Linked DNA regions of Homo sapiens: region 1 is linked to region 2. Evidence: promoter capture Hi-C in human tissues and cell types (Jung and others, 2019). All regions are on one chromosome and are shown on one strand. The core of a region is centred on a gene start or on the middle of the fragment in contact, and the rest is flanking DNA. Distances in the headings are between cores, read along the strand shown.

Region 1 (3,470 bases), core at 231-2,730, 590 kb before region 2:
CTCCTTCATAGGAAAAAGCTGAGGAACCACAAATGTAAGTAGACAGTTCACTTGGGCCAAGCTTGAAGATTGTAAACTGGGAGCAAAGATTCAAGTTGCCTGGAATCTAGCAGCAGTTACAAGTGGATTTTTAAAGGCAAAAAGAGATAGAGAGTGGGCTGATACAAAATTGTCAGGAAATCTTACTTATTTACTAAAAACAACCTTGATTACTGATTGACATACATTTCTAAGCTGTATAGGGTGTGGGTTATAGTGTTCAGCGTAGCATTATTAGTTTAATTTATAGCTACTCGTGGCAATAGCAAGCAGTTTCAAGAGATAAATACATAGCTCAAAGGAGAGAGAAAGACACAATTGTGGTCTCGTTTTAATGTCTCTTTGAGCCTTATAACTAAAAGGATTTGCATTTCTCAGATAAAAGGTTTACTGCAAGACCCAGATTCAGAATGTGGAGCCGCTAGTTTAGGTCCTGGATGGGTAGAATAGCAGTAAGTGTTACCTGCACATTTGTGGGCATTTTAAAAAGAGAAGGAAGGGGAAAGTGGAGATTCTCATGCCTACATGTCTACTCAATGCATGCATGTTACTCTAACGGGCCCCACAGTCTCTGAATCAGTTTCAGGTCTAAAGATACAAGAGTCATTGAAAGAGGTAAAATGGTTAATTGCTGTTCTGTGAAGTATTTAGAAATTTGGTCTAGCCTCTCTAGATGTGATTATACAGGACTAGATACCAAATAGGCAGAGGCACGATTCTGCCTGCATATTCAGGGGACAGCATGCATTTTGCAGCACAATCATGAGTTGACTGGAAGCCTGAGACAAAAAGGCCCATCTAGATTAAAGCTTGGTTGGCACCTTATATGTTTATATCATGTGTGGTAAGTTTAAACAGTGTTTGGAAAATATAATTAAAAGGAAAGTTTTCTCCAGCCCCAGAGTAACTCCACAATGATAAAACAGAAAGAAAACTGTTTTATTACACAATTACACCAGAATGTGACACGCATCACAATCTGCTTAAGAGACTGCAAAGACAGAAAGACGGTCACAATAATTAGTCCATAAGTAGAAGAATTTACAGTACCATGTTATACATAGTTCATCCTAAATTCACCTGGCAACTGGGGAGGCCATCCGTGTAAGCTAATTGGCTATATTCAATGACAAAATAAACTTTTCACATCTTCGTGACAGGAGGTAGTTTTGCAATTTGAAGCCAGGTGCCTGCTGAAGGTAGGCTCTCACTCTCCTATAGAAATGGTTGAATATAGTGCTCTCTTTTTGGCTATTTGCATTTTAAAGCAATAGCTCTCTACTCTGAGCACTACCACAGCAACATGATACCAGTACAAAAACAGGCTCAGAGACCAATGCAACAGAATAGAGAGCCCAGAAATAATGTGGCACACCTACAATCATCGTATTTTTGACAAAGCTGACAAGAGAAATGTAGGAGAGATTCCCTGTTTAATAAATGGTGTTGTAATAAATAGCTAGCACTATGTAAAAGATTAAAACTGGACTCCCTGCTTACACTATATCCAAAAATAAACACAAGATAAATTAAGGACTTAAATGTAAAACTTAAAATTATAAAATGCCCTGGAAGATAACCTAGGAAATACAATTCCAGACATAGAAACTGCCAACGATATTATGATGAAGATACCAAAAGCAATCGCCACAAAAGCAAAAATCGATAAATGGGACCAAATTAAACTAAAGAGCATCTTCACAGAAAACAAAAACAAAACCCACAAGAAACTATCAACAGAGTAAACAGACAACCTAGAGAATAAAGAAAAATATTTGCAAACTATGCTTCTGACAAAGGTCTAATATCCAGAATCCATAAGGAACTTAAGCAAGTTTACAAGAAAAAAAAAACCTTATTAAAAAGTAGGCAAAGGACATAAACACACGCTTTTCAAGAGAAAGCAGGTGGGTGTGGTGCCTCACACCTGTAATCCTAGCACTCTGGGAGGCCAAGGTGGGTGGATCACAAGGTCAAGAGTTCGAGACCAGCCTGGCCAATATGGTGAAACCCCCGTCTCTACTAAAAAAAATACAAAAATTAGTCAGGCATGGTGGGGCGTGCCTGTAATCCCAGCTACTTGGGAGGCTGAGGGAGAATTGCTTGAACCCAGGAGATGGAGGTTGCAGTGAGCCGAGATCGTGCCACTGCACTCCAGCCTGGATAACAGAGCGAGACTCCATCTCCAAAAAGAAAAGAAAAAAAAGAGAAAGCATACATGTGGCTAACAAGCATATTAAAAAAGTGCTCATCACTAATCATTAGAGAGATGCAAACAAACAAACAAAAAAAACACCACAATGAGATACCATCTCACACCAGTAAGAATGGCAATTACCAAAAAAGTCAAAAAAATAATAGATGTGCTGGCAAAGTTGCAGGGTAAAGAGAATGCTTATACTCTGCTGGTGGGAGTGTAAATTAGTTCAACCATTGTGAAAAGCAGTGTGACAATTCCTCACAAAACTAAAAACAGAATTACCATTTGACCCACCTCCTAATTAGGTATATACCCAAAGAATACAAATTATTCTATCATAAAGACCCATGCACATGCATCTTCATTGCAGCACTAGTGACAGTACCAAAGACATGGAATTAACCTAAATACCCTCAATGGTAGGCTAGATAAAGAAAATACATTGTGGTTGAGCATAGTGGTTCACGCCTGTAATCCCAGCACTTTGGCAGGGTGAGGCAGGTGGATTGCGTGAGCTCAGGAGTTGGCGACCAGCCTGGGAAACATGGCAAAACTCTGTCTGTACAAAAAATACAAAAAGAAAAATTAGCCAGGCGTGGTCGTGCACGCTGTAGTCCCAGCTACTTGGGGGGCTTAGGTAGGAGGATTGCTTGAGCCCAGGAGATTGAGATTGAGGCTGCAGTGAGCCAAGATCACACCACTGCACTCCAGCCTGGGCGACAGAGTGAGACCCTGTCTTCAGAAATAAATAAAATAAAGATTTAATAAAAACAAAATATGGTACATAAAAATAGTGGAATATTGTGTGGCCATAAAACAAGAACAAGATCATTTTCTTTGCAGCAACATGGATGGAGCTGGAGACCATTATCCTTAGAAAACTAATGCAGAAACAGAAAACCAAATGCATGCTATCATTTATAAGAGCTAAATAACAACAACACATGGAGACAATAAGAGGAAAAACAGACACTGAGGCCTAGTTGAGGGTAGAGGGTGGCAGGACAAAGAGGATCAGGAAAAAAATACCCATTTGGTTCTATGCTTAGTACCTCAGAGACAAAATAGTCTACACCAAACACCCACAACACAATTTTACCTATAGAACAATCCTGCATGTGTACTCCCGAACCAAAAACAAAACAGAAAAGATCCATGGGTGGGGGAGAGTGCACTGTAGATGGAAAGACTGGTTTGTGCTACAGATAGTGGCGTGGGGCTGTCCTCTCAT
Region 2 (3,814 bases), core at 173-2,672:
GTGGATATTTTGATTTATCCTCAGAAAGTACTGAAACCCAGGACCAAGGAAAAAACTGAAGAGTGACTAAGGACACATTACCTTATAAAGTTTCCAAAGGGAAACCTTGACCCAAAAATATTCTGATAAGATCTCTGTACCTAGGGAAGATTTAAAAAAAAAAAAAAAGGCACAGAGATTTTTTACAATACAGCATCAGGGGATGAGTCTTTGGTTTCTTCTCATGGGAAATATTTACAAACAGATAACAAATCTTTTTTAAAATGCCATCCATGCTTTGTCAAAAAATGATTAATTAAAATACAGTATTTCAAATGTACACTAAAGGACAAATAGTTGATAATGTGAATTAGGAAGGGGAAGTTGGCATTTGGGAATGTCAGAAGGAACTGGAAATTTAGTATTTTACTGCAAGCCAGAGTTAGGCTGAAGGAATGGGAAATGGGGAGGGGGAGGAGTCTTGAGACCCTGCTTGGGACACATGTGAAAAATGAAGGGGAAGATCTGTCCCCTGTGGAGTGTGAAAATAATTAAGTGGCAGGCAATTAGACTGAGGTCGCTCCAGTCCCAGGGTTTCTGGTTTTAAAAAAATCTAACTCAAATGCATTTTTTTGTAAATTACTACCTTGTGAAAAATAAAATTCATGTTTAACCAACTGTAAACTGCCAATTAACCTCTGATTACATGACCAGGAAATTTCCTCCTTCATTGTACAAATTAAGAAACTACATAACTCTACTAACCAATTACTGAATTTGGTTTTATCATACACCTTATACAAGTGTTTCCTTCAAACCCCTCCCACGGACCACTACTGCAAACCACAGCTGGGTGCTCCACAATTCTTGAATCACTGTTTGATTAAATTAATTTTTTTGCGGTGACTTTCATAAATTTTAATAGGGGAAAAGAGGGACAGGGAAGCCCGCGGAGGAAACCTCTTCCCATTCATGAACCCAGCACCCCGAGTCAGGATTCTCCCCTGACGACCCTCCCGTCGTCTCTGCACAATCGCTGCGGGTGCAGAGCTGCTCAGAGAGGGCTCCAGGCCAGGGCACAGTCACTGCGCAGGGAGGAGACAGGACGCCTGGTTCCGGCTGTCAGCCCAGCTGCCATGCTATGGCTTAAGGGGACTGAGGGCCGAGCTGTGCCAAGAACTCGGGGCCGCGGATTTTGCAGCCGACTGCGGGAAGACCCGAGTACTGCCACAGCCACTTCCGACCGGTTCCAACCAGCTCCCTCCCCCTCTCTCGGGATGTCGGACCCAGCACTCTCACCATTTCTAGGCTTCCGGGGGATCCTGGCGTCTTAGCTGTGAATCTCCCAATAACCAGATCACAGCGCCACAGAGGCTGGGCCTCTAGGAGTAAGAGGACGCAGAAAAGTGAAGGCCAGACCTGCAGCACCCGCTGCAGCGAGACAAAGACCCCGCCGCCTCCCGGAAGACGTCATGTCCGCTCCAGCTGGGTGCCTGATTGGACCGTTCCCAGCCCGGCGTCCCTGATTGGATAACGTTTAACAACCCGCCCCCTCAGGCCCTGAGTGACAGATGTGCTCAGGTGCTGGGCTGAAGGAAGACAGAGTTAAACCTAAGCAGCAGCCTTTTCCAGAAGGGCTTCCTCCCTGAGCTGAGTCAGGCCCACCCCAGAGGGCATTTGCATTTAACCTTGTGTATAAGGTCGTATGCATTTATAAATAACATATAGCTATTCACATCTGAATATAACAATTATTTTTAAATTCCAGATTTTATAACCGTACTGGCTTCTGGTCCTTTGAGCAGGCAGCCTGAGATTTTTTTCTTTTTTTTTTTTGAGACAGAGTCTCACTCTCACCCAGGCTCAAGCACAGTGGCACGATTTCGGCTCACCCCAAACTCCGCATCTCGGGCTCAAGTGATTCTCCTGCCTTAGCCTCCTGAGTAATTGGGATTACAGGCACCCGCCTCCACGCCCGGCTACTTTTTGTATATTTAATAGAGACAGAATTTTGCCATGTTGGTCAGGCTGATCTCGAACTCCTGACCTCAGGTGATCCACCTGCCTCGGCCTCCCAAAGTGCTGGGATTACAGAGCACATGTGAATTCCAAATTTTCTAGTAGTCAAACTTTAAGAATAAACAGGTGGAATTCACTCTAATTGAGATGGTTAGTCATTTAGGCTGGGCTCAGTGAGACCATTCTTGTGACCTCAGCTGAGTTCCTTCAGACATGTATCATCAGCTGCTTGTTGACTAGGCAGCTGTGCTTCTGGGGGTGAGCTTCTGCTTCTGAGGCTGTCAACAGAGGCAACTTGCTTCTCCTCCCCATACTATTTTATCTTCCATCTGGCTAACATGGGCTTTTTTCGCGGAGATAGTAGCCTTCTGAAAGAAAAACAGAAGCATGCAAAACCATTTGAGCCTACGCCTCAAACTAGCACACTGCACTGTTCACAGGTTTTTACTGCCCTGAGCAAATAAGGCCAGCCAGATCTAGGGTTTGGAAAACAGAACTGGATCTCAATGGAAACAGCTGTAAATGCACCTGGCAATGGGCATGGATAGCGGAGGGATGAAAAATTGCTAACATTTTTGCAATCAGTATCATTCTGCCTTTTTTTGCATATGTGGTTTATATAACTCTTCCACATCAAAAAAAAAAAAATTTGTGCAAAGACCCACAGCTATTAAGTGGCTGGGCTGGGACTCAGAATTAACTCCATTTGACCCTTGAAATCCTGGAGAGTGACACTTCTAAAATAGAAGCCAGATTTCTTTTAGATTTGTGCCCATATAGCACTGTTTATTATTATTGCTAGAAATAATCTTAAGAAATTGAAGAAGCACACGGTAGCTCACATCTATAATCCTAGCACTTTGGCAAGCTGAGATGGGAGAATCACTTGCGCTCAGGAGTTCAAGTGCAGCCTGAATAACATAGTTAAGATCCTATGTGCATGAAAATTTTTTTTTTTTTAATTAGCCAGTCATGGCCGGGCGCGGTGGCTCATGCCTGTAATCCCAGCACTTTGGGAGGCCGAGGAGGGCAGATCACGAGGTCAGGAGATCGAGACCATCCTGGCTAACACGGTGAAACCCCGTCTCTACTAAAAATACAGTCCCAGCTGCTCGGGAGGCTGAGGCAGGAGAATGGCATGAACCCACGAGATGGGGCTTGCAGTGAGCCAAGATCCCACCACTGCACTCCAGCCTGGGTGACAGAGCGAGACTCCGTCTCAAAAAAAATAAAAAATAAAAATAAATAAAAATAAAAATTAGCCAGCATGAGGCAATCCTGTAGTCCCAGCTACTCAGGTGGCAGAGGCAAGAGGATTACTTGAGCCTGGAAGGTCGAGGCTGCAGTGAGCCATGATTGGTTACGACACTGCACTTCAGCCTGGGTGGTGAGAGTGTGATCCTTTCTCCAAAAAAAAAAAAAGAAAAGAAAAGAAACAGAAAAGAAAAAAGTTGCAGGAGCATTTCAAAAGGACATAGCATATGTGGAAAAAGATAGATGAGGGATGAGTTGAGAAAATCAAAGCCCAGCAACACATTACTTATTTTTTATCATAGATAAAATCTGTAAACATCTAAAAAAAAAAACAAAACCTTCAGAGAAATTGAATGTAACAGAGTCTAAATGAACAAAGAATGATTTGCAAATCAGGCAGCCTGTGGGCCCAGAATAGGCTCAGAGAGACTCCAGCACAGCAACATGGTAAAAAAATTGATCAACAGAAAAAGCAAAGTGGCATACAGAAAATGAAATTGAGGTACAGAAACAGCCAAATTGATTACAGCTTGGGATTTGCCTTATTTGAACATGGTTTGAA

The links. Contacts are between HindIII fragments. The study calls those that stand out against the background at their distance.
Region 1: a fragment that was not itself captured here is called in contact with the fragment with the promoter of ZNF138 in region 2 in 1 of the 25 tissues and cell types used here (dorsolateral prefrontal cortex).

Annotation. Positions count from the first base shown.
Region 1 is chr7:65,379,787-65,383,256 of GRCh38, reverse strand. All of the region lies in intron 1 of ZNF92 (zinc finger protein 92), which reads right to left. Among named protein-coding and RNA genes, the nearest start is that of ZNF92, 7.7 kb to the right of the region's middle. The HindIII fragment of the contact is 3,903 bases long and covers 1-3,431 here.
Region 2 is chr7:64,792,036-64,795,849 of GRCh38, reverse strand. ZNF138 (zinc finger protein 138) reads right to left here and starts at 1,422. Exons shown (of 4, transcript NM_001271639.2): 1 at 1,279-1,422. The coding sequence starts at 1,281. RefSeq lists enhancers at 822-1,382, 1,167-1,406, 1,647-1,696. The HindIII fragment of the contact is 15,546 bases long and covers 1-3,814 here.